Linked DNA regions of Homo sapiens: regions 1, 2, 3, 5 and 6 are each linked to region 4. The links are contacts of gene promoters, found by promoter capture Hi-C in blood cells and fetal thymus (Javierre and others, 2016). All regions are on one chromosome and are shown on one strand. Each heading gives the region's core, a stretch centred on a gene start or on the middle of the fragment in contact. The rest is flanking DNA. Distances are from core to core; before and after follow the strand shown.

Region 1 (4,502 bases), core at 1,881-4,380, 540 kb after region 4:
GTTCTCCTTTAATTTTGCCAAGGAAAGTCTTTTTTAAAAAACCTCTGTTGTTCCTGTCACTTAACACTAAAACGTGGAAAAACACATTCTCAACAACAGCAAAATAGCAGCCAGGCATGGTGGCACTTGCCTGTAGTCACAGCTACTTGTGAGCCTGAGGTGGGAGGATTGGTTGAGCCTAGGAGTTGGAGTCTGCAGTGAGCCATGATCCTACCACCGTGCCCCAGCCTGCTACTGCTAAACAGGTTAGCGGTGTCAGGAGGGTCTTCCCTCTTGCTGCTCGGTGCCTAGAACATTCTTGCCCAGATATTTGCATAGCAGCACAGCTGGCTCCCTCATCTTTTATTCAGGTCACCTCATGAGGCCGCTCCGGTCTATTTTAAAGCTGCAAGCTTCTTGGTTGTGTTTTTTGTTTTTTTTGTTTTTTTTTTTTTTTGAGACAGGGTCTTGCTCTGTCAACCAGGCTGGAGTGTAGTGGCATGATCACTGCTCACTGCAGCCTCAACCTGCCAGGCTCATGTGATCCTATCACCTCGGCCTCCAGAGTAGCTGGGATTACAGGTACAGGCCACCACCTGGCTAATTTTTGTATTTTTAGTAGAGGTGGCGTTTCACCATGTTGGCCAGGCTGGTCTCAAACTCCTGACCTCAGGTGATCAGCCTGCCTTGGCCTCCCAAAGTGCTGGGATTACAGGCGTGAGCCACCATGCCCGGCCAGTCCTCTCTAGCTTAACCTTCACAAAGAAACTTTGAAATGATATTCAGTTTTTGTTACTGCTTTCCTCAGGCCTTTTCTGTCTTTAGCACCAACCTCTTCTGCTCAGCCCATTGAACACTCATTCTGGGCCCAGGGGTCTAGGCTCATGCCTGTAATCCCAGCACTTTTGGAGGCCGGGGTGGGCAGATTGCTTGAGTCCAGGAGTTCGAGACCAGCCAGGGCGACATGGCAAAACCTTGTCTCTACAAAAAAACCCCAAAAACTAGCTGGGTGTGCTGGCACACACCTATCATCCCAGCTACTAGGGAGGTGGAGGCAGAAGGATCACTTGAGCCAGGGAGTTGGAGGCTGGAGTGCGCCGAGATTGCACCACTGTGCTCCAGCCTGGGCAACAGAGTGAGACTCTAACTCAAAAAAAAAAAAAAAAAAGAAACACTCATTCTGTTTCACAGAATGGTTTATAGAATGGTGTGTTGCCTGATTCTGTAATCACAAAAGTCAGTTAAGAGCTTTAAAGTAAATGTTATTCTGTCTTTTGGTAATAGCAATTACCACCATCCAAGGTACTACTGTAAATAATTATTGTTTATTCCCTCCTCCACCTCCTCAGCACAGGTACTTTGTGTTTTTTTGTTTTGTTTTGTTTTTTGAGGAGGAGTTTCACTCGTTGCCCAAGCTGGAGTGCAATGGCGCAATCTCAGCTCACTGCAACCTCCGCTTCCCGGGCTCAAGTGATTCTCCTGCCTCAGCCTCCCAAGTTGCTGGGATTGCAGGCATGTGCCACCATGCCTGGCTAATTTTGTATTTTTAGTAGAGACAGGGTTTCTCCATGTTGGTCAGGCTGGTCTTGAACTCCCGACCTCAGGTGATCTGCCCGCCTCGGCTTCCCAAAGTGCTAGGATTACAGGCGTGAGCCACTGCGCCTGGCCTTACTTTTGTTTTATACTCTGTTGTACCCTCAGCGTAGCACACATTAGGCACTTAGGAAGAATCTGAGAAACGAATCAGTTAATCCCTACTTTACCAATAATGAATAAAGACTGAGAAACTCGGGCCGGGCGCAGTAGCTCACACCTATAATCCTAGCACTTTGGGAAGCCAAGGTGGGCGGATCACTTGAGGTCAGGATTCAAAACCAGCCTGGCCAACATGGTGAAACCCTGTCTCGACTAAAAATACAAAAAAAAAAATATGAGCTGGGCGTGGTGGCGGGTGCCTGTAATTCCAGCTACTTGGGTGGCTGAGGTGGGAGAATCGCTTGAACCTAGGAGGCGGAGGTTGCAGTAAGCCGAGATCGCACGACTGAACTCCAGTGTGGGCGACAGAGTGAGAGTCTCAAAAAAAAAAAAAAAAAAAAAAAAAATAGACTGAAAAATTACGCAACCTGTCCAAGAACACTACAGCGACAATTAGCAAAGCTGGGATTTTAACCCAGGTCTATCTCACAGCCACAGCATAGTATTTTCTTTTTTTTCTTGCTGTGACTGCACGTTACGCCATACATGGCATTCAGGACGCAGAGGAATTAGTATTTACTGTTTTTAACATTCCTTACATGGGAATCACGTAAAGAATCAGGTAAACAGGATTCAATTTGTGACTCAACCATTAATACTTTGTGACACTGGCTAATTTATTTCACTTCTGGATGTCGGTTATGTTTTTTTTGAGACAGGATCTCGCTCTGCTGTCACCCGGCCTGGAGTTCAGTGGAGGGATCTCTGCACCGTCAACTTCCTGGGCTATCAAGCGATCCTCCCACCTCAGCCTCCCTGGTAGTTGGGACCACAGGTGCCCGCCATCATGTCCGGCTGATTTGTAAAATTTCTTTTGTAGAGATGGTGACCTTGCTCTGTGGCCCAGGCTGGTCTCGAACTCCTGGACTCAAGCGATCCTCCTGCCTGGGCCTCCTAAAGATTCAGCTGCTTTTGGATCAACCGATCGCCTTAAGACCTTTTAACTCGAACACCTGTCACATCCTAGGATCCGCGAAGGACTGAAACAGAGTTTCTGAAGCGTCCCTCGGCGCAGTAGCTCCGCTCCACCTCCCATTCGCGCTACCACCGCGGCCGCAGCCCCAGGAGTCGCCGCGGAGCCAGCGTCGCCCTCCAGCTGTTGCGCGTCGGAAGCCGGAAGCAGGGACTGAGCGACAGACTAGGAAACGCCGGTTTCTCCGGGGCTCCCCAGCGCCCCACCTTTACCCCGGAGGCCGCCCTCTTCCATTTGCTCTTGGGCGTCAGGGCGGTACCCCACTCCGCTCGACCCTTTGGATCCACTCGCACTTCCTCCCGTCCAGAGTCAAAGGCCCCGGAAGTGACGTTTACGCGCCGCGCGTAACGTGCGTTCGCTGGCGGTGCCGGGGGCGGGGCGAGCAGGAGGGTGGGTGTGAGGCGGGAGCTGGCCGCGGAGCCCAGACCTACCCGGGCGAAGCGGGCGAGCGGTGGTTTGGACGCCGGCGGAGACGCGGGCGAGGTACGGAGCGGACGGACTGGGGCTGAGAGCTGCTCGGCTCTCAGCTACAGGAGCGGGGCGGCGGGGCGTCTCGGGCTGGGGGTGGCAGGGCGGTCGGTCCGTGCCATCCGCGCGGCTGGGGCAGTTGCGCGTCGGTGCCTCCCGCTGTCCTTCGTCCCACATTCCGTCTCCGTCAGCGCCGCCTTCCCCGTTCCAGGCCGCCCTCGGCTCCCTTAATCCTCAGAGTGCGGCCTCTCCGTCCCAGACGCTAGTTGCCGGGATCTCCAGCGCCAGCCGAGCCCCGACGGCCTGACGCGGAGCATTTCCTGGCCGCCTCCCTCTCCGGCGGCTCCCCTCGCCCCGGCTCCCACCTTCCGTCCAGGCCGCTGGCTCCGAAGCAGCGTCTGTGGTCGCACGGGGCCCCTCCCACAACCTCCCCGGAAAGCGCTGGTATGGGACGCTCGGACCCAGACCACAGCCCCCGGCCGCGGCAGGGGCGCGGGGACTTGATCCCACGTCACCCTAGGGGGCAGAAGTGTCCCGGAGTTGGGAGGGGATTTGAAGCCTGTGGTCCTGACTTCCACCCCGTGGCTGAGGGCGAGGCTGCGGGGCCGGGGTTAGGAGCAGAAGTCCCTGCTTCCGAACCGTCTGGGAGGAGAGCCGAGGGATGCCCATCACGGCAGTTTAGGGAGAGAGAGGGAGGGACTCTGCCGCTTTGGAGGCTAGGTCATAGGCAGCTGGCGGTGTCTCAGCGCGGGTGACCAATCCTTGCGGTTGGGAAATGTGTCGTGGGCGCCCGTGGGCTCGTTTTGCCTTTGAGATTAGGTAGGAAATTTTCCCAGGACGAGTTTACCGGAGCACCTTGGGAGTTGGTTTTTGGCCTGGAGAGCTGCTTTCCCCCCTCTAAACCTAGAACTGCTTTGTTTTTATTTATTATTTTTTTCGACATGGGATCTCACAGTGTTGCCCAGGCAGGTGTGAAACTCCTGGCCTTAAGTGATCCTCCCGCCTCGGCCTCCCAGAGTGTTGGGATTATAGGCGTGAGCCATTGCGCGGCTTTAACTGCTGTTAAAGAGTGTGTTCCGGCCGGGTGCGGTGGCTCACGTCTGTAATCCCAGCATTTGGAAGGCCAAGGCAGGCGGATCATGACGTCAGGAGCTTGAGACCATCCTCCCTAACACGGTGAAACCCCGTCTCTACTACAAATAAAAAAAAAAAAGAAAAAGAAAATTTGCCGGGCATCGTGGCGGGCACCTGTAGTCCCAGCTACTCTGGAGGCTGAGGCAGGAGAATGGCATGAACCCGGGAGGCGGAGGTTGCAGTGAGCCGAAAT
Region 2 (4,446 bases), core at 1,526-4,025, 520 kb after region 4:
TTAGAAAACTAGTTAAATAGGTAGGCCAGGCATGGTGGCCCAGCACTTTGGGAGGCTGAAGCGGGCAGATCACCTGAGGCCAGGAGTTCGAGACCAGCCTGGCCAACATGGTGAAACCCTGTCTCTCTACAAAAAATACAAAAAAATATTAGGCGTGGTGGTGCACATCTGTAATCCCAGCTACTCAGGAGGCTGAGGTGGGAGGATTGCTTGAACCTGGGAGGCAGAGGTTGCAGTGAGCTGAGAACATGCCACTGCACACTCCAGCCTGGGTGACAGAGCAAGACTCTGTCTAAAAATGAAGAAGAAAAATAGTTAAATAGCTGCTTTAAAATCCTGGTTTGGTAATTCCAACATCTGTGCCATCTTGGGGTTGGCATCTGTTAATTATCTTTTTCCATGTAAGATGTTTAGATTTCCCTAGTTCTTTATATATTGGATAATTTTGAATTGTGTTTTGGATGTCTCAAACATAGTGTTACGTGGTTAAATTCTATGGAGAAGTTTAATTTATAAAAAAAAAATAGGCAATGGATTTGGTTAGGTTCAAGCTGCAACTTCCTACCTGCACTCCGTGAGCTGTGGTTACAATGTCAGTTTAGTTCCCAAATACTTCGCAGTATTCAGATATGTCCTGAGTATGTACCACGCAGTGGCCAGCCTGGAACCTGGGGAGTGGTCCATCCTGTAATTTCTTTCTCAAAGCCTGTGCTGTTTAGGATCAAATGCACACACATGCAGCTCAGGGGTGAGCTGAAGAGTTTATATAAATTGTTAATCAAATTGTCATCTCAAGCTCCCTCTTCTCATCAATTTCACTGACACTTTTCAGCTCCCAAGGGCCCCTCCCTAGTCCTTTAACTCTAAAGCCAGGGCTTCAGTTTCTCTGCTCTGCCACATACTTCTTACGACTGCATCTTTCTTCAGTGCCAAGTGGCAAGAGCATAGAGAGAAAGACAGCAACAGGAATCCCTCCAGCACTCTTGGGGCCACAGACTCTTGAGAGAAGTGTTCCCTCGCAGAGCATTTGGTGGTTACCCAACTGCTTTTGCTTGTCTCACCATGTCATGTGATTGCCTAGAAGCTGGGACAGTAGGGAACGGCAATTAACACCAAAAACCAACCAACCAACAAAAACAACATCACAAAAAACAAACTGGGGCTGTCTCCATTCTTCCTGACCTGTAGGGGCCTCCTTTCGCAGTCTGAACCACAAATGGAGAGCTTCTCTTAGAGCTCCTTCTGTCTGTACCTGGTTTACCATCTTAGCCTCCTGAGTAGTTGGGAACCATAGGTGCACGCCACCAAGCCCAGCTAATTTTTATATATATTTTGTAGAGATGGGGTCTTGCTATGTTGCCTAGGCTAGTTTCAAACTCCTGGCCTCAAGCACCTCGGCCCCCCGCAGTGTGCTGGGATTACAGGCATGAGCCACCATGCCTGGCCAAAATTTTTTTTATGTAAATCTTTCTGATAAAAATTTCAGATCCAGATGGCTTGACTGGTAAATCCTTTCAAATAATTAAGGAGGGAGTAATATGAATCCCACAAAAACTTTTAGAAAACATAGAAGACAATACTTCCCAAGTAATTTTATGAGGCCAGTGTTAACTCTGATACCAAAACCAAACACCTAACAAATAGACCAGGAGTCAGCAAACCATGGCTTGTGGGGCCAAACCAGACTATGATTTGTTTCTGTAGATAAAGTTTTATTGAAACATAGCCACATTTATTAAATTACATACTGTCTTTTCCTGTTTTCCTGTTACAGTAGTAGGGTTGAGTAGTTATAGCAGAAGTTATATGGCCTGCAAAGCCTCACATATTTACTGACTTTACAGAACAAGGTTTGCTGGTCCCTGATGTGGACCAGCAGTCTTCATGGAAAAAGATGCAAAAATGCTTTAGAAAGATTAGCAAATCAAACCCAATAAATAAAAGAGATAAAATATCAAGATCAAGTGAAATGCGTCCCAGAAATACAATGTTGCTTTAACAACAAAAACAAAAATAAGTCAATGTAATGCAATATATTAACAGAAGAAAGGTTTAAAATGGCAGGATCATCTCAATACTTGCAGAAAAGAAGCATTTGACAACATTCAACATCCATTCATTATTATTATTATTATTATTATTATTTTTTTTTTTTTTTCTTTGAGAGGGTGAGTCTTGTTCCATTGCCCGGGTTGGAGTGCAGTGGCGCGATCTCGGCTCACTGTAACCTCTGCCTCCCAGGCTCAAGAAATTCTCGTGCCTCAGCCACCCCAGTAGCTAGGACTACAGGCATGCACCACCACGCCCAACTAATTTTTGTATTTTTAGTAGAGACGGGGTTTCGCCATGTTGGCCAGGCTGGTCTCGAACTCCTAGCCTCAAGCGATCCACTCACCTCAGCCTCCTAAAGTGCTAGGATTACAGGCACGAGCTACTGTGCCCACCCCACTGATAATTAAAAAAAAAAAAAATCAGCAAACTAAATATAAAAGGGAACTATCTCAACCAGAAAAAATACAGCTACAAAAACTTAAAGCTAATATTTTAATGGATAAAGTATGAATTGTTTCTCCCTAAGATTAGAAACAAGGCAAGCATGTCCACTCTTGCTGCTTGCATTTAGCATAGTACTAGAGGTTCAAGCTTGTGCAATAATAAAAGAAGAAAAAGTAAAAGACATACCAACTGGAAAGGAGGAAGTAACACTGTTCTTATTGCAGACAACATGATCATCTGTATAGAAAGTCCCAGGAGATATGAAATAAGCTACTAGAACTAATAAGTTAGCAGAACCAAGTGTCAATTGAATTTCCATATGCTAGCTCAAACAATGGGAACTGAAATTTTAAAAACAAAGCCATTATTATTATTATTGTTGTTATTTGAGACAGAGTCTTACTCTGTCGCCCAAGCTTGAGTGCAGTGGCACAATCTTAGCTCACTGCAACCTCCACTTCCCAGGTTCAAGTGATTCTCCTGCCTGAAACCTCCAGAGTAGCTAGGATCACAGGCGCACGTCACCACGCCCGGCTAATTTTTGTATATTTAGTAGGGATGGGGTTTCACCAGGTTGGCCAGGCTGCTCTCGAACTCCCGAGCTCAAGTGATCTGCCGGCCTCGGCCTCCCAAAGTGCTGGGATTACAGGCATGAGCCACTGTGCCCGGCCAAAAGAAAGCCATTAATAATAGTGTTTAAAAATCAAAATACCTAGGAATAAATTTAATAAGAGACATGTATATTAGTGTCTTACTGCTACTCTAACATATGCCATATAGTGACTTAATACAAATTTATTGCCATACAGTCCTGGAAGTCAGAAGTCCAAAGTCAGTCTGTCTGAAATCAAGATGTCACAGATTCGCCTTCTGGAGGCTCTTGGGGGAGATGCTTGCCTTTTTTCACTTCTAGGTGCTGCCTGAGTTCCTTGGCTCATGGCCTCTTCCTCCATCATTAAATGCAACAGTGCAGCATCATCAAATTCCACCCCCTTTGCTCTGGCACTTATCTCTGCTTCCATTATCACATCTCTTTTTCTGACTCTGACCCTCCTGCCTCCCCCCTTATGAGAAACTTTGCAGTGGGACCTATCCAGATAATCCAGGATAATTTCTCCACCTCAAGATCCTTAATTTAGGCTGGGTCCAGTGGCTCACGACTCTAATCCCAGCACTTTGGGAGGCCAAGGCGGGCAGATCTCTTGAGCTTGGCAGTTTGAGACCAGCTTGGCCAACGTGGTAGAACCCCGTCTCTACTCAAAACACAAATTTAGGTGGTTTGTCTTTTTACTTCCTTGGTGCTTTGAAACAGAAAGTTTTTGGCCAAGTGGGGTGGCTTATGCCTGTAATCCCAGTGCTTTGGTAGGCTGAGGTGGGAGGATCACTTTGAGGTCAGTAGTTCAAGACCAGCCTGGACAATATAGTGAGACCCCCCCTCCGTCTTTTCAAAAAATCAAAAAAATTAGCTGGGCATGGTAGCACATGCCAATATACCTGATGATGTCCCAGCTAGGCAGGAAGATCACTTGAGCCCAGGAGTTCAAGGTTTCAGGGAGCCATGATTGTTTCACTGCACTTCATCCTGGGCAACAGAATAGGACCCTGTCTCAGGGGCTGGGTACGGTGGCTCACGCCTGTAATCCCAGCACTCTGGGGGGCTGTGGTGGGTGGGTCATGAGGTCAAGAGTTCGAGACCAGCCTGGCCAACATGGTGAAACCCCACCTTTACTAAAAATACAAAAATTAGCCAGGCGTGGTGGTGCGCGCCTGTAATCCCAGCTACTCAGGAGGCTGAGGCAGGAGAATCACTTGAACCTAGTAGACGGAGGTTGCAGTGAGCTGAGATTGTGCCATTGCACGCCAGCCTGGATGACAGAGCAAAACTCCGTGTCAAAAACAAAAAGACAAAAAAACCCTGTCCTTACAAAGAAAGAACAAAGGAAAAAAGAA
Region 3 (4,255 bases), core at 250-2,749, 740 kb after region 4:
GCTCTTCTTCCTCAGATCCCACAAAGGCAGGTGCCTGGGCTGATAGATGATTCCTGTGTGGGTTTGATTTCAGGATTTATTTGTATCCCAGAGAATGACAAGTACGTGGTTCTTGACTTTATAAAAAAATGATTTCTCTTTCATAGGCAGGGAAGCCCACGAGGAGATAAACATCACCTTCACCCTGCCTACAGCGTGGAGCTCAGATGACTGCGCCCTCCACGGTCACTGTGAGCAGGTGGTATTCACAGCCTGCATGACCCTCACGGCCAGCCCTGGGGTGTTCCCCGTCACTGTGTAAGTGTACCCGGCACCTGATGAACGTGCGTAACAAGCTCCACTTGCCGTGAGTACGGCTGGGCTGCTTCAGCTGTAAATTCTCAGGATGGCTCACTTCACATTTCTTTATAGAATTATCTCTACTCGGACCTATCTAAAGGATTATTTAATTTGTCTAAAGGATTATTTAATTTGGAATTCTAAAGATAGAACTTCTGCATATAAAATCAGAAAGTTAGTGCCCCCTCGAGGCAGTAAAAGCACCTGGCTGTTGTTGGACATTCATAGGCTGTCTTTCCCGCAGGAGTAGAAGCAGCAAGTTACAGAAAAGAGGCTCACTGTGGCCGGGTGCCGTGGCTCAGGCCTGCGATCCCAGCACTGTGGAAGGCTGAGGTGGGAGGATCACTTGAGCCCCGGAGTTCAAGACCAGCCTGGACAACATATAGGGAGACCCTGTCTCTATTTAAAAAAAAAAAAAAAGAAAGAAAAAGAAAAAAGAAAAGAGGCTCTCTAAAGATAAAGGTTTTCAGCCAGGTGCGGTGTCTCATGCCTATAATCCCAGCACTTTGGGAGGCCAAGGTGGGCAGATCACCTGAGGTCAGGAGTTCAAGACCAGCCTGGCCAACATAGTGAAACCCCATCTCTACTAAAAATATAAAAATTAGCCAGGCATGATGGCACATGTCTGTAATCCCAGCTACTCAGAGGCTAAAGCAGGGAGGCAGAGGTTGCAGTGAGCTGAGATCGCGCCACTGCACTTCAGCCTGGGCAACAGCAAGACTCTGTCTCAAAAAAATAAATAAATCAAATAAAACAAAGATAAAGGTTTTGTTCATCTCCATTATCCAGAAAGATATTTTAAAATCGTTGATTTTAGTTTATCTTGATTTTAGTTTTAAATCAAGTATAAATCAAAACTTATTTTCTGTTAATTAACTAATTTTAAAATCTAACATTTTAAATCATTTCCCATTAAACAGTTACTTTAATTTTACCTGCGAATTTGAAAATTAGTTTTAAAATCAAATATAAATTGAACTTTATTTTCCATTAAACAATTAAGGTTTTTGAAGCTTTTCCTTCAGTGTTTTTGAGCAGCATTCAGTGTTACTGCTTTGCATTTTAGGTTTTTTTTGTTGTTGGTTTTTTTTGGTCTCTCCTGTCTCTATAAAGGAGATAATTATCTATAAATAAATAGGTGAAATACATAAGATATAGCCTATTTAAAATAATTCTATGGTGAATCCTTTTTAAATAAGAATTATCTCAGGATTTGTCTATTTTAGACATTTGGAGGTTTGTAGGACAAGATCAGATTAAGTTAAACATTACTTTGTGTTGCAGTGACTGATATAGAATTTTGTAGGTAAAGCTTCCAGTTGTAACTAAGTGATATGCTTTGGGCTGGGCGCAATGGCTCACACCTGTAATCCCAGCTACTTGAGAGGCTGAGGCAGGAGAATCAGTTCAACATGGGAGGTGGAGGTTTCAGTGAGCCGAGGTCACACCGGCCTGGGCAACAGAGCAAGACTCCGTCTCAAAAAAAAAAAAAAAGATGATATAGTTTGGCTGTCTCCCCACCCAAATCTCGTTTTGAATTGTAGTTCCCATAATCCTCATGTGTCATGGGAGGGACCCAGTGGGAGGTAATTGAATCCTGGAGATTGTTACCCCCATGCTGCTGTTCTCATAGTAAGAGAGTTCCCATGAGATATGATGGTTTTATAAGGGGTTTTCCACCTTTTATTTGGCACTTCTCTTTGCTGCCGCCATGTGAAGAAGGATGTGTTTGCTTCCACTTCCGCCATGCTTGTAAGTTTCCTGAGGCTTCCCTGACCATGCTGAACTGTGAGTCAATTAAGCCTGTTTCCTTTATAAATAACCCAGTCCCGGGTATGTCTTTATCAGCAGCATGAGAAAGGACTAATATACTAAGAGTTTAGCTCATTTGAGAAGATAGGCTTAAAAGGAGCTTATGTGCTTTGCATCACATGTGAGAGGACTGTAGGCTGAATTCTGAAGGCAAAAATCCAACACCCAAACTCCTAAATGTCAGGCACCTATTTATTTTTCTGTTATATTTTTATTTTTTAAAAAAGACCCTCAAACTAAAATATAATGGTATTTATCTCAAAGAAGCATGAACGTGTAAGTTACATTTTTCCTTTCCATGTGTGTTGCCGTGTTCAGTGTTTTACCAGCTGCTGTGGGGGTGACACAAGTGAATGACTCAGGCCACTGAGCACGTGTCTTTCCTCCTCCTCTTCTCCTGCAGACAGCCACCGCACTGTGTTCCTGACACGTACAGCAACGCCACGCTCTGGTACAAGATCTTCACAACTGCCAGAGATGCCAACACAAAATACGCCCAAGATTACAATCCTTTCTGGTGTTATAAGGGGGCCATTGGAAAAGTCTATCATGCTTTAAATCCCAAGCTTACAGTGATTGTTCCAGATGTAAGTGAGAAAAATTGTGTGTGTGTGTGTGCGTGCATGCATATGCACATGTGTGCGCATGTGCTGCAACCGTTGGTGTAGGCCCTGCTGACTTCCCTGGGTAAGCGTATCCTCTGCCACTTTAGATTTCCAGGTGAGTTAGGACACTAGGCGGAGTGGTGGATGCTTGGAAAAACATGTTACCCATTGGTTAAGAAAAATCTGGTTTTTCTCTTCATTTTCTCTGTTGTTCAGCAGCAGTTATTTCTTGAGCAACTGCCTAATCCCTGGGGGGGGTTACAAGGGATCCTTCTATTAATATTATCTTAGAGGGATGTTCACAGACGTTCATAGAAGACTATCTAGTTAGTGTCCGTGTGAACAAGAAATAGTGCTGCTTAGAGTTCTGAAAGATAGAAGGGAGTAGTAGGAGGAGATGAATCTTCGGCTAGAGAGTGAGGCCTGAATAGGATTTAACTTAACCAAGAGGCAAGGGGAACAAAATACTTACCTATCTCATCTAGTAGCTGTGTGCTGCTAGCTCAGCTTCCTACTTAGACTTGAGCCCACTTACTTTTTTAGAGACAGGATCTTGCTCTGTCGCCCAGATTGGGGTCTAGTGGCGCAATCATAGCTCACTGCAGCTTCAGCCTCCTGGGCTCAAGCTTCCCAAGTGGCTGGGACTACAGGTGCATGTCACCATGCCGGGATAATTTTTAAACTTTTTGTAGAGACGGGGGTCTTGCTGTGTTGCCCAGGCTGGTCTTGAACCCCTGGTCTCAAGCGATCCTCCTGCCTTGGCCTCCAAAGTTTCTGGGATGACAGGTATGAGCCGCTGCACCTGGCCCAAGCCCACTTTTTAACACTGCTTTGATATTTTATAAATATGTTCCTTTCTGGCAGTGTGTGTTAGCTGGATCTCTCTTCTTTTGGCCTGGCCCTTTGCCCTTTTCTTTTTTTCTTTATTTTAATTTTTTTTTATTTTTATTTTTTGAGATTGAGTCTTTCTCTGTCACCCAGGCTGGAGTGCAGTGGCACAATCTCGGTTCGTTGCAACCTCTGCCTCCTGGATTGAAGTGATTCTAAGTAGCTGGGATTACAGGCACCTGCCAACACGCCCAGCTAATTTTTGTATTTTTGGTAGAGATAAGGTTTCGACATGTTGGCCAGGTTGGTGTTGAACTGCTGACTTCAGGTGATCCTCCCACCTCAGCCTCCCAAAGTGCTGGGATTATAGGCATGAGCCACTATGCCCGACCTTTGCCCTTTTCTGGGGCTCATTTGTAGGCCAGGGTCCTGCAGGAGCCAGCTATGGAGGTCAGGCTGGATGGTGGGCTGAGGCCCTTAGTGCCTGGCCAAGGGCAGTCCCTGCCTGTGTTTGGGGCGTGGGTGTTGGTAAAGCAGTGTGTTGAGAAGACTGAGCTGCCCCGCTATGTTATAAATGACCTGGGGGAGCCCAGAGCTGTCCTGAGGCCTGGAGATACTAGAGGGTAAAGGAATGGAACCATGTCTGGGGTCCCTTTAGTAACTTGCAGGGT
Region 4 (4,116 bases), core at 1,422-3,921:
ATGTAGAAAGCAGAATGTAACTTGGCCCTTGCTTAACATTAAAAGACTGGTTAGAGGATCGCTTGAGGTCAGAAGTTCGAGACTAGCTTGGGCAACATAGTGAGACCCTGTCTCTAAAAACAAAACAAAAGGTGGGCGCGGTGGCTCACACCTGTAATCCCGTCACTTTGGAAGGTGGAGCCGGGCAGATCATCTGAGGTCAGGAGTTTGAGACCAGCCCGGCCAACATGGCAAAACCCTGTCTCTAATAAAACTACAAAAAAATTAGCTGGGCATGGTGGCAGGCGCCTGTAATCCCAGCTACTGGGGAGGCTGAGGCTGAAGAATCACTTGAACTCGGGAGGCGGAGGTTGTAGTGAGCCAAGGTCATACATACCATTGCACTCCAGCCTGGGCAACAAGAGCGAAACTCCATCTCAAAACAAAAACAAACAAACAACAAAATTGCTGTCTACCATCTTATAGTCAGTTTTCTTATCTATCTCTGTGTGTGTGTGTGTATACACCCACACACATATATACACACACACACATATACACACAAACACACACACACACACACATATATATAATTATTATTTTTTTTTTTGGGTGAGAGGCAAGGTCTCAGTCTGTCACCCAGGCTGGAGTGCAGTGGTGCCATCATGGCTCACTGCAGCCTAGAACTCCTGGGCTCACGGGACCCTCCTGCCTGGGTTTCCCAAACTGCTGGGATTACAGGCGTGAGCCACCACACCCAGTCAGCTGATTATCTGTAGAAGGAGATATCATATGTACCTTAGACAGTTGCTGTAAAGATCAAATGAGGTCCACACAAAAACTTCTTTTTTTTTTTTTTTTTGAGACGGAGTCTCACTCTGTTGCCCAGGCTGGAGTGCAGTGGCACAATCTTGGCTCACTGCAACCTCCACCTCCCGGGTTCACGCCATTCTCCTGCCTCTGCCTCCCGAGTAGCTGGGACTACAGGCGCCAGCCACCATGCCTGGCTAAATTTTTGTATTTTTAGTAGAGACGGGGTTTCACCGTGTTAACCAGGATGGTCTCGATCTCCTGACCTTGTGATCCGCCCACCTCGGCCTCTCAAACTGCTGGGATTACAGGCGTGAGCCACTGCACCCGGCCACACACAAAAACTTCTACACAAATGTTCATAGCAGCATCATGTATAATAGCCAAAAAAGTAGAAACAGATGTCCATCAATGGATTAATGGATAAATAAAAGATGATGTCCAGCCAGGCACGGTGGCCCATGCCTGTAATCCCAGCACTTTGGGAGGCCAAGGCAGGCAGATCACTTGAGGCCAGGAGTTCAAGATCAGCCTGGGCAACTTGATGAAACCCCGTCTCTACTAAAAATATAAAAATTAGCCAGGCATGGTGGCACATGCATGTAATTCTAGCTACTTTGGAGGCGGAGGCATGAGAATCACTTGAGCCCAGGAGGTGGAGGTTGCAGTGAGCCAAGATCACATAACTCCACTCCAGCCTGGGAGACAGAGTGAGACTCTTCAAAAAAAAAAAAGGTGATGTCTGTATAATGGACTATTATTCGGCCGTAACAAGGAATGAAGTGCCGATACATGCTACAACATGGATGAACTTTGAAAATATTATACTGTGTGCAAAGGAAGGTAGTTACCTTCCCGGGTTCAAGCAATTCTCCTGCCACAGCCTCCCCAGTAGCTGGGACGACAGGCGTCCGCCACCATGCCCGGCTAATTTTTGTATTTTTAGCAGGGACGGGGTTTCACTATGTTGGCCAGGCTGGTCTCGAACTCCTGACCTCAGGTGATTCACCAGCTTTGGCTTCCCAAAGTGCTGTGATTAGAGGCATGAGCCACCCCACCTGGCCTAGCAGAGAGCAATTTTGAATACAGCTGTTAGATTCTGCACTCATGCCTTCTCTAATCCATGTCACTGGAGTAGAAATAATTGCTTTGACAGAACCTGGTGTAGATGTGTCTGTAGGAAGAAACTGTAAAATGAATGGATCATTTTGTGAAATATCTGCCCTTTCCCCACCTTTCTTTTGCTTCTTTGCCTTTTTCTCCCTAGTTTTCATTTCTTTCTTTTAGGGCGTCAGCCCCCCACCTCTGTGGTTGGGAGGGACTATTGCACGTCTACACTCTCGTGGGGATGAAATAGTGTTTGAGTTCGTTATTTGCATTTGCGCGTTATCTCCCCGAGGAGATGACAGCTTCTCTGCCAGCAGCGGGCAAAGGTGGGCTCTGAAGCAGAGGAGAGGAATTATCAGGAAAAGCTCATTTTCTTCTCCTGTCCTAGGGTTTCACTGATGAAGGCCTCTGGGACACCCACGTTGGGGGTGGGGGCGGTGAGGACCGCCACCTGCCCGCGGCTCCCCTGCAGCCAGGCCACGCGCGCTGTTGCTAGGGCAACCACCCGGCCAGGCCTGCGGCTGCCGGGAAGCCCCCTCGGGAGCGCGCACGGGAAGGGCTGTGGGGGCGCTGGCCGGCTGCGACGTCAGACCCCCGCCCCTCGGCGCCTGCCGGACCCAGCTCCATTCCCAGCCGCGCCTCCTTCGGTGGGCAGCCGGCCGGAACTCACGAATCAGAGCAGCCGACACATCGTCCGCTCAGCCAATCGTAGCAGATGTGTGATCCCGCCACCTCCCCGGACCCTGGCGGTTGTCGCTGAGTTGGCGACCGCGGGAGACGCTGCTGAGGCGGCTTCGGTTGCGGGTCGGAACGGCGCTGCTCTGCGGGGCCGGTCCAGGCTGGCAGCTGCCGGCGCTTGGCGGTGAGGGCGGGCTCCCGAGTGGCCCCCCACCGAAGGCGGTGGGACCAGCGGCTGAGGCCAGGATGCCGTCCAGGCGGCGCGGCGGCTCCTCACTCATCCCAGGTAAGGGGGACGCGGCGCTCGCTGCGGCTCCGCTCCCCTCTCGTCTCCTCACACCCGGCCCTGTGCCCCGTCCTGGCATCCCTTGGCCCCTTGTCGCCTTCTGCTCGGTGCCTCCCGGTTGTCCAACCCCGCCCCCGAGCGCGGAGCCCCGGGTCTGGCCCGTCCGGCCCCTGCTCCCACGCCCCTTCCCCCATCGCCGGCATTTCCCGGGCTCGGCTTCGCCCCGGCCGCCGGGGCCTCTCCCCTCTGCCCTTTCTCTCCCTTCTCGCAGCCCTGGGACCACGTCCTAGCCCCGCAGTCCCCTGGGATGAGACCCTCGTCTCGCCGGGATCGGACATTTGCCCCCACGTCTACCCCGGCTGCGCTTCTTGAGCTCATCGCCCCATCATCCTACCCGTTGTACGTAGTCCTGTCTGCATGGCAGTCGCCCGCCCCGCTCCAGGTGTCCCTGGGTCTTGCCCTTTTGCTCCTAAGCACCTTCCTTTCCCAACTCGCCTCTTCTCCCCTCACTTTGACCACCCACCATCGCAATCTCCTCTTCCTTCTCTTACTCTTAAACCTCCAGACACTTTCCCACTCTCTGCAATGCCGGATTCATCGCTTTTTTTTTTTTTTTTTTTGAGAGATGGAGTCTCTATGTTGCCCAGGCTGGCTTCGAACTCCTGACCTCAAGCTATCCTTCTGCCTCGGCCTCCAAAGTGCTGGGATTACAGGCGTGAGCCACTGCGCCTGGCTCAGATCCATAGTGTAATATCTTCATTCGTCCTTACATGAGCTGCACCCCATAACATGTAAAGTCCCTTGCCCAGAGTCTAGCACACAGTAGGCCTGGCACATGGTGGGTGGTCACGCATGTTAGCCTCTTCCTCCTTCCAGGCGTTTTGTACTTTCCAGATGATGGTAGCAAGAAGTCCAGTGTCCACAGGGATTTGACTCTGCCTGAAGAATGGTATGGGAGATGGCAGGAGAAATTGGTGAACTCCAGTAAAGCGATTAAATGGTCAATTACTGCATTCATTAAGAAGAAACAATTCTGCTATCCGTGCCATGTATTGTTTTATGTTAATTGCCTTTGTAAAGGATTCTTAGGCTGCTAGTCAGCAGGCTTTGCGGTGTAATTACTCCCCATCCCCTCTCCATCCCCATCTGCAGTGTTTGGGTAACTTTCTTTTTAGGAAAGAAAGAGCCCCTACCTCCCAGCTAAAGTGGCATAGTATATAAGCAATGTGGTACGTGTTTATCTATTAGCTGGATAG
Region 5 (4,454 bases), core at 580-3,079, 800 kb after region 4:
GATCACTTGAGACCAGGAGTTTGAGACCAACCTGTGCAACATGGCAAAACTCTATCTCTACAAAAAATTCAAAAATTAGCCAGGCATGGTGGCATGTGCCTGTAGTCCTAGCTACTTGGGCGGCTGAGGTGGGACGATTGCTTGAGCCCAGGAGGTCAAGGCTGCAGTAAGCCGTGACTGTGCCACTGCACTTCAGCCTGGGTGACAGAGTGAGACCTTGTCTCAAAAAAATAAAAGACATAGATTACCCAGTCTCAGGTACTCCTTTATAGCAAAATGGACTAAGACAGTGTTTCTGATTCAGTACCACTTGGCCCTCTTCTGACTCCAGTGTACTCTCAACTCAGCAACCTCAGTGACTGTTTGAAAACTTAGGTGAAGTCACGTCATCCCTCTGCTTAAAACCCTGCACTGACCCCTTCATTCAAGAGTCAATGCTTGAGTCCTCACAGTGGCCCAGAGATCCTACACGTGTGGCTCTTTGTTAACTCTCTTACCCCATCTCCTTGGTTTCTTTTTTTTCAGTCTTAGTAACCTCCTCTGGGCCTTTGCAGTTCACTGTTCCTGCCGCCTGGGATAACCTCATGGTTCTCCCAGTTCCTTTGGCTTTGGCTCAAATCTCACTTTATCCTTGTGTTAGTCTGTTTTGCATTGCCATAAAGGAATACCTGCAGCTGGGTAATTGATATGGTTTGGATCTGTGTCCCCACCAAATCTTACGTCGGATCGTAGTCCCATTGTTGGAGGTGGGGCTTGGCGGGAGGTGCTTAGATCTTGAGGGCAGATTTTGCATGAGAGGTTTAGCACCATCTCCCTTGTACTGTCCTCGTGACAGTGAGTTCTCATGAGATCTGGCTGTTTAAAAGTGTGTGGCACTGCCTCCTTCTCTCTCTTGTTCCTGCCATGTCATGTGCCTGCCCCTCCTTTGCCTTCCACCAATATTGGAAGCTCCCTGAGGCCTCCTCAGAAGCAGATGCCGTTACACTTCCTGTACAGTCTGCAGAACTGTGAGCCAATTAAATGTCTTTTTTTTATAAATTGCCCAATCTCAGGTATTTCTTTTTTCCTTTTTTTTTTTTTTTTTTTGAGATGGAGTCTCACCCAGTTGCCCAGGCTGGAGTGCAGTGGCGTGATCTCGGCTCACTGCGGCCTCTGCCTCCCAGGCTCAAGCGATCCTTCCACCTCAGCCTCCCAAGTAGCTGGACCACAGGTATATGCCACCATGCCCAGCTAATTTTTTGTATTTTTGGTAGAGATGGGGTTTCACCATGTTGCCCAGGCTGGTCTCGATCTCCTGACCTCAAGTGATCCGCCCGCCTTGACCTCCCAAAGAGCTGGGATTACAGGCATGAGCCACCATGCCCGGCCAGGTATTTTTTTTATAGCAATGCAAGAATGGACTAATACTGTAATTTATAAAGAAAAGAGGTTTATTTGGTTCATGGTTCTGCAGGCTCTACAAGCATGGTGCCAACATCCACTTGGCTTCTGGTGAAGCTTCAGGAAGCTTCCACCCATGGAGGAATAGGTACCACATGGTGAGAGAGGGAGCAAAACAGTAGGGAGAGATGTGAGGCTTTTTTTTTTTTTTTTTTTTTTTTTTTTTAACAGCCATCTATGAACTAATAGGGCAAGAACTCAACACCAAGGGGAGGGCGGCAAGCTGAGGTAGGAAAGTAGAGTCTGGAGACAGAGCCTAAGGCCAACCTGTGGCTGACGTCCTTGAATTAAACTGAAAGGAAAGCTTTAGCCTCTGATGGGCTGTGGGCTAATTCTTTATTTGCATATGGTATAACTCCACTGCAGCCTCTGATTGGCCATGAGCCAATTCTTCATTTATATAGGGTGTAACCAATTGGAAGCCTCCCAAGGATACCTGGGGGTGTTACCAAATTCTTCTAGCTTAATAAAAACCTAAGCTTAATAAAAACAACTGGAGCTCTTGAGCCACTTGCTCAAGCCTGCTTCCTGACTGTAGAGTGTACCTTCCCATCAATAAATCTGTGTTTTTGTTGCTTCGCTTGTTGCATTTTTTTCAGTTCTTTGTTGAACATGTGAACAACCTGGACAACTCCTAGGCAAGACCCTCCACTGGTAACAAAGCCACTCCTGAGGGACCCACCCCCATGACCCAAACACCTCCTATTCGAGCTCACTTCCAACATTGGAGATTACGTGTTAATGATATTTGGAGGGGACGAATATCCAAACCGTATCAGTCCTTGAGGCCTGCTGCAGTACTGTTTTCTGACCCCCAAATACCTTTTCTCTTTTTTTTTGAGATGGAGTCTCGCTCTGTCGTCCAGGCTGGAGTGCAGTGTGGCACGATCTCGGCTCACTGCAACCTCTGCCTCCTGGATTCAAGCAGTTCTCCTCCCTCAGCCTCCCAAGTAGCTGGGATTACAGGTGCCCACCACCACTCCTGGCTAATTTTTGTATTTTTAGTAGAGATGGGGTTTCACCATGTTGGTCTGGCTGGTCTTGAACTCCTGACCTCAGGTGATCTGTCCGCCTCGGCTTCCCAAAGTGTTGGGATTACAGGTGTGAGCCACCACGCCTGGCCAACCTGTCCTTTTTCTATACCAGTTCTCATGCTTACTATTGGGAGTTATCATTAGCCCACAAGACTGCCCCCACTTCAGACACCAGTCACAAGTCCCGGCTTTAAATTTAGGGTTCTGCACCACTGCCTCCTCAGGTTCTATAGGATGACTCACAGACCTCAGGAAGTTGCTTGACTTATGTTTAGTGGTTTATCATAAAGGATGCAACTCAGGAACGGCCGAATGGAAGAGCTGCACAGGGCCAGCTATGGAGGGGTGGGGGTTGAGCAGGGCTTCCAGGCCGTTTCTGGCCGTGTCTTCTCCCCAGCACATTGGTATGTTCACCAAGTCAACAGTCTCCATTGTTCAGGGGTTTTTCTTGGAGGCTCCATTACATAGGCACGATTGATTAAATCATTGGCCTTGGTGATTAAACTCAATCTCCAGCCCCTCTTCTCTCCCTAGTGTTCCCTGTTGGGGCTGGGGTAGGAGGTGCTGAGTTTAACTTCTCATCAGTTTCTCTGGCAACGAGCCTCCATCCTGAAGCTATCTGAGGCCTCACTCCAGTAAGCCATCTCATTAGCGTACAAAAGATATTCATTCCATCTTTTGTTGTAGTGGCTGCTCCCAGCCTAGAGCTTCTCTGGGGTTCTGTTAGCCCTGTGAACTCTTCCCTAGGACTTTTTCCTGTCTGTCAACCGGCTTCTTTTCATGTTTCCCATTCTTTTCACTCTTCACTCTTTCTTTTATTTTATTTATTTATTTATTTTGGAGATGGAGTTTTGTTGCCCAGACTGGAGTGCAATGGTGCAATCTTGGCTCACTGCAACCTCCGCCTCCTGGATTCAAGTGATTCTCCTGCCTCAGCCTCCCGGGTAGCTGGGATTATAGGTGTGTGCCACCACGCTTGGCTAATTTTGTATTTTTAGTAGAGACGGGGTTTTACCATGTTGGTCAGGCTGGTCTCGCATTCCTGACCTCAAGTGATCCAACTGCATCGGCCTCCCAAGGTACTGGGATTACAGGTGTGAGCCACTGTGCCCAGCCCATTCTTCACTATTTCTTTTTGCACTTCTCTGTGTTTATTGTTTTTTAATATGTTATTTTCTTTATGAGACAGGATCTGAGTCTGTGGCCCAGGCTAGAGTGCATTGGTGTGATCGTAGCTCACTGTATCCTCTAACCCCTGGGCTCGGGGGATCTTCCCGTCTCAGCCTCTTGAGTAGCTGGGACTATAGGTGTGTGCCATCACACCTGGCTAATTTTTAAATTTTTTTATAACGATGAGGTCTCACTTTGTTGTCCAGGCTTGGCCTCAAGTGATCCTCCCACCTCAGCCTCCCAAAGTGCTGGGATTATAGGCATAAGCCATCTTGCCTGGCTGATATGTTTACTCTAGTAGGGCAAGGCAGATTGATCATCCAAAGCCAAATTAGATTCAGTCCTATGTAAACCCTGATCGGGTGAGAACAACACAAATGAATGATCTCTGTAATGGTGCCCAAGAAAATGGTAAGAGTGAGGATAGAATTTGTGTTCATGAAGATACATATCAGTCACTGAAAATATTTTTCATGAGGAATGCCACATTCTTGTGCCAACAGGGGTAATGAGGGTTATATTTGGCTCATTGAAGACTTTATTTGATGTTTTTTTTGGTCCTATTAGGGATTCGCAACAGTTCTTGCTGAAGCAGTTACATCCCTGGATCTGCCTGTGGCCATTATTAATCTAAAAGAATATGATCCAGATGATCATCTGATAGAAGAGGTTGGTAATTGTCTTTTTCTTCAGTCAAAACTCTCAAATTTAACTGATCTGCAATCTTCACAGTAAATTTAATTAGATAACTAGAATCTTCAGAATAAATTTAATTTTCGTGCTAAGGGATTTCAGTTAGTTGAATTCCAG
Region 6 (4,004 bases), core at 533-3,032, 590 kb after region 4:
CATGAGGTCTTTTTTTCGTCTTTCTTCACATGCGACAGGCAATGTGCCAGTGTTGTAACAAGGTTTGAGGGAGGCATATCTCACACATGAAAACCCAGCGTGAAAACCCAGTCATCACACTTATGAACTACAGGAAGATCTAGCATGAGGTCTTGTTCCACATGCTGGTTTAGGGGAAAGAGCTGAGCCCAGTGGTTCTAGTTACAAAAGTGAGGTTCAAGCATGGGCAGCCCCTTAGCGCCGCCCTTGTTGATGAGGTGAAGGAAGCTTAGCTGCCTCTTACAAGATTTTCTTTTCTTTAAATCACTTGCCGTAGTTCATGAAAAGCTGGTTGATGTTTTTTCATCTAAATACTTTTGACTTTCCCTAAGGCTGTTGGAAAGCAGAAGTAACCAGTAGGTAAACAGAAAAGTAAGCTGATCTCACAGTTGCATTAATGAACTCCTATTCAGGAATGTGTTCTCTGATTTTTAGTACCGCATGTTTAATAATTCCACTTACTTAGTAAAAAAGGCCAATAGGACACTACAGGTCTTCTAGAGTTCATGAATCACGCTGTATCTGCTCAGACTCTAGTGACATCAAAGTATTTTAAATGAACAAAATGTCTTTGGGAATTCTGCTTTTTGGCAATCTGGACCCTTCTGTCTGCACTGTGTGTCTCTTGTGCAACTTGTAACATGGGAGTTACTGGATTTCTTAGCCCACTACACATTTCATTCAATAAAGGGAAAGCAAGGGTTGAAACATTTCTTACGCTAAAAATAATTTCATGATGACCTTTATGAAGAACATATGCGTTCCTTAGACACTGTCTAGCTGCTAAAAATGACGGATTTCTGGCTTTTTTGTTTGTTTTTGGAGATGCAAAATGAGCATATGTATCTTAACGGTTCCCATCACCTTTATTTTGCCAGTAATTGAATTTGACACAGTTAGTTTTGCCCTGTTTTCTTCATCTAAATGTGGAAATGTTTAAGTCTGTATTCTACTAGTTACTAATGACCTCAAGATATACTCCCTGGTGAGATGGACTTTCTCAGAATATGAGGACTGCATGCTTGGCACACTTTAAATGTGTGTTTCATTTTTAAAGAGGATTAAAGCCCTCATATGGTTCTTTTCCTTTAAAAAATTATTGAAGGCAGCACAAATTGGTAATACAAAAAAATATGGACATGAAAGCTAATACCTAAATAGATTAAGCAGTTAACAGCAGTACAGACAAAACTTAATGAACCCATAAAATAGAATGTGGCAATTCACATTGAAATGATGGAAGTTCTGGATGAAATACACAGAAAACATAGGCAAGGAAAATAGTCAAAGGTTTTCAAAACTGGAAGTGGAAACAAAGATCTCAGCCAGACTGTTAAGAAAGTGTATAGAGTGCCTCTCAGCATAATGTTCAAAGATAGACATCCACTTGTCAATGTCTTAATCACAGAGTAAAAATTTATTTTAGAAAAATAAAACGACAACTTTACTCAGATGTTATAGAAAAGATGCCAGGTGCGGTGGCTCACGCCTGTAATCCCAGCTCTTTAGGAGGCCGAGGAGGATGGATCACGAGGTCAGGAGGTCAAGACCAGCCTGGCCAAGATGGTGAAACCCTGTCTCTACTAGAAATAAAAAAATTAGCTGGGCGTGGTGGCACATGCCTGTAGTCCCAGCTACTCGGGAGGCTGAGGCAGGAGAATTGCTTGAACCTGGGAGGCGTAGGTTGCAGTGAACTGAGATCACGCCACTGCACTGCAGCCTGGCGACAGAGCGAGACTCCATCTCAAAAAAAAAAAAAAAAGATTATAGAAAAGATGATCCCGTACAATGATTAGAGAGTACTTGAGGTAAAGGATTTACTCACTGCTCTACTATCTTTTTTTCTTGGAAAATTATGACAAACCTTTTGGAGTTTTGTAGAGCCTAAAAGAACTTACCAACACAAACCTGCCCTCACTTTGCCCCTTTGGCAAACACTGTGAGGGGCCTGAGAGTTACCTTATTTGCAGGCTAACAAATTAACCTGCCATGGTTTCACAGATACTGGCCAAAGACACGAGTCTCCTGGGTCAGAGACAAAGGCCAGTTTCTTACAGCAGTAGCAGTAGCCAGAGCATTTGCATTTGTGCTTATCCCCGAGTATCTGTTCCTATAGGATAATGCAGAGAAGACCAGGGAAAGCCTGTGCATGCAGTGAGTTGTATTAGAGGAGAGGAACCTTGGATTTAGGGATCCTTATTAGACAGTAAGCAGTCTACCCTTTTCTCTTGAAGGAGGCACTATCTCTGTCTCCTAAAGCTGTTTTCTATAAAGAAATCCTTGAAAAGATGTTGCAAAACAAAGGCAGTCATTGCCTTTGCTCACAGATAGGTAGAAAGAGATCTATGGAGAATTGTCTTCAGCATCTTATAAAGGGAGGAATGGTAATAAATGGCCACATTTATTCATTCAACCCATACTGAGCACTAACCCTGTGCCTGGCCTTGTTCTAGGCATGAGGATATGGTGGTGAACAGTGCCCTTGTGGAGCTAACATTTTAGTTGGGGAAATGGACAATAAGCAGATCTGTAACATAGTGTTAAGTCCTACAAGAATGGAAAGCAGGATGAGAGACAGTGGCAGGGGTGAGTTCTTTTACATTATGAAAGCAATACTGTACTGGAGCATAAACTGCAGTAGAAATAGAAAAGGAGTTTTCGGCATTGTATTGTAAAATTACAGGGGTTGTGCTGGGCTGGGGGAGGAGAATATGATCCCTTGACACCAGTAAGACAGGCCTCTCGGGTCTCTAAAAGGAGCTCAGAGAGTTTCTAGTTGGAAGCGAGCACTACAGGTTGAGTATCCCTTATCCGAGAGCCTTGGGACCAGAAGTGTTTCAGATTTTGGGGTTTTCCCAGATTTTGGAATATTTACACATATATAAGATAACTTGGGACTGGGACCCAAGTCCAAACACAGAATTCATTTGTTGAATATATGCCTTACATACATAGCCTGAAGGTAATTTTATACCACATTTTAAGCAGTTTTGTGCATGTAACAGTTTTGGCTGCTTTTTGACTCTAGCCCATCATCACATGAGGCCAGGTGTGGAATTTCCCACTTGTGGTGTCATGTCGACACTGACAAATTTGGGATTTTTGAGCATTTCAGATTTTTTATTTTTGGGTTAGGAATGCTCAAATCTGTAGTAATAATCACAAGAATGAATATAGTTTCTTCTAAGTTAAGTGCTAAAATTTGGTGCAAATGAAAGGTGTAAAACCATGTGTAAACTACCTAAAAAGATTGAATGGATAAGCTTTTGCATAAAATACTTGAAGTAGAAGGATAGATTTGAGCACTGCAGTGTGTGCATGTATATGGGTAACTAGTTGACAGTAACAAGGGCTGCAGTCAAGGTGATCACAAAGTGCCATGAGTGCTTGGCCATTTTTACTGAGGGAATGAGGTGACTGCTCCTGACCCCAAGTGTCCTGCCATCCTTTTAGAGTTAAGCCAGATGGTCAGACTGCTGTGGGCTTCCACAGGATGTATCGGCCCTTGGCGTGTGAGGTCAGTGGCCTGTGTAGATGAAGTCTGTGACAGCCCGTCCTGGGGGTTTGTTCTCGGCCTTATTCATGTTCTTCTACTGTGACATCCTTATGAGAACCGTTGGGAGAAATTTTTGATTTTGGTGTCAGAATTTCACCCGAATAATTTGTTTGCTTTCATCTTTTGAACCCTGAATTACATAACTGTTTTCATCCTAGTGATGGTTGCTAAAAAATTTAGTTAGAGACAGATGTATGGGCTGACTCTTGACTAATTTAGACATCTTCCAGGAAAACATTTCTGTCTTGTCATCTGTGGCTCTGCTTTAGGTCTCTCTCCATGTTTAATTTTTTTTTTTTTTTTTTTTTTTTTACTTATTATTGTTAAAAAAATTTTTTAATTTCTTTCTTTCTCTTTCTTTCCTTTCTCTCCTTTCTCTCCCCTTTCTTTCTTTCCTCTTCTCTTTTCT

Evidence for each region. Contacts are between HindIII fragments. The CHiCAGO score rates a contact against its expected background, and 5 or more counts as called.
Region 1: the fragment with the promoter of RABGEF1 here is called in contact with the fragment with the promoter of TPST1 in region 4 in 1 of 17 cell types (naive B cells); the score reaches 5.2 in naive B cells.
Region 2: a contact is called between a fragment that was not itself captured here and the fragment with the promoter of TPST1 in region 4, in 1 of 17 cell types (M1 macrophages). The highest score is 5.2, in M1 macrophages.
Region 3: a fragment that was not itself captured here is called in contact with the fragment with the promoter of TPST1 in region 4 in 1 of 17 cell types (total CD8 T cells); the score reaches 5.8 in total CD8 T cells.
Region 5: a fragment that was not itself captured here is called in contact with the fragment with the promoter of TPST1 in region 4 in 4 of 17 cell types (total B cells, naive B cells, M1 macrophages and 1 more); the score reaches 9.0 in total B cells.
Region 6: a fragment that was not itself captured here is called in contact with the fragment with the promoter of TPST1 in region 4 in 1 of 17 cell types (M2 macrophages); the score reaches 6.4 in M2 macrophages.

What each region holds. Positions count from the first base shown.
Region 1 is chr7:66,737,603-66,742,104 of GRCh38, forward strand. RABGEF1 (RAB guanine nucleotide exchange factor 1) reads left to right here and starts at 3,131. Exons shown (of 9, transcript NM_014504.3): 1 at 3,131-3,190. RefSeq lists enhancers at 2,745-2,794, 2,808-3,474 and silencers at 2,925-3,194, 3,215-3,354. The HindIII fragment of the contact is 9,271 bases long and covers 391-4,502 here.
Region 2 is chr7:66,718,052-66,722,497 of GRCh38, forward strand. It overlaps a transcript of RABGEF1 not described here. Among named protein-coding and RNA genes, the nearest start is that of RABGEF1, 20 kb to the right of the region's middle. The HindIII fragment of the contact is 269 bases long and covers 2,642-2,910 here.
Region 3 is chr7:66,948,398-66,952,652 of GRCh38, forward strand. TMEM248 (transmembrane protein 248) reads left to right here. Exons shown (of 7, transcript NM_017994.5): 4 at 147-297; 5 at 2,555-2,738. Among named protein-coding and RNA genes, the nearest start is that of TMEM248, 29 kb to the left of the region's middle. RefSeq lists enhancers at 2,005-3,204, 4,225-4,255 and a silencer at 4,225-4,255. The HindIII fragment of the contact is 299 bases long and covers 1,351-1,649 here.
Region 4 is chr7:66,202,663-66,206,778 of GRCh38, forward strand. It overlaps TPST1 (tyrosylprotein sulfotransferase 1), which reads left to right and starts at 2,672. Exons shown (of 6, transcript NM_003596.4): 1 at 2,672-2,860. RefSeq lists silencers at 2,295-2,564, 2,715-3,074. The HindIII fragment of the contact is 8,515 bases long and covers 1-4,116 here.
Region 5 is chr7:67,005,372-67,009,825 of GRCh38, forward strand. TYW1 (tRNA-yW synthesizing protein 1 homolog) reads left to right here. Exons shown (of 16, transcript NM_018264.4): 4 at 4,212-4,313. Among named protein-coding and RNA genes, the nearest start is that of TYW1, 11 kb to the left of the region's middle. The HindIII fragment of the contact is 175 bases long and covers 1,743-1,917 here.
Region 6 is chr7:66,790,326-66,794,329 of GRCh38, forward strand. All of the region lies in intron 4 of RABGEF1 (RAB guanine nucleotide exchange factor 1), which reads left to right. It also overlaps the pseudogene GRPEL1P2 and the pseudogene LOC124901840. Among named protein-coding and RNA genes, the nearest start is that of RABGEF1, 52 kb to the left of the region's middle. The HindIII fragment of the contact is 3,035 bases long and covers 266-3,300 here.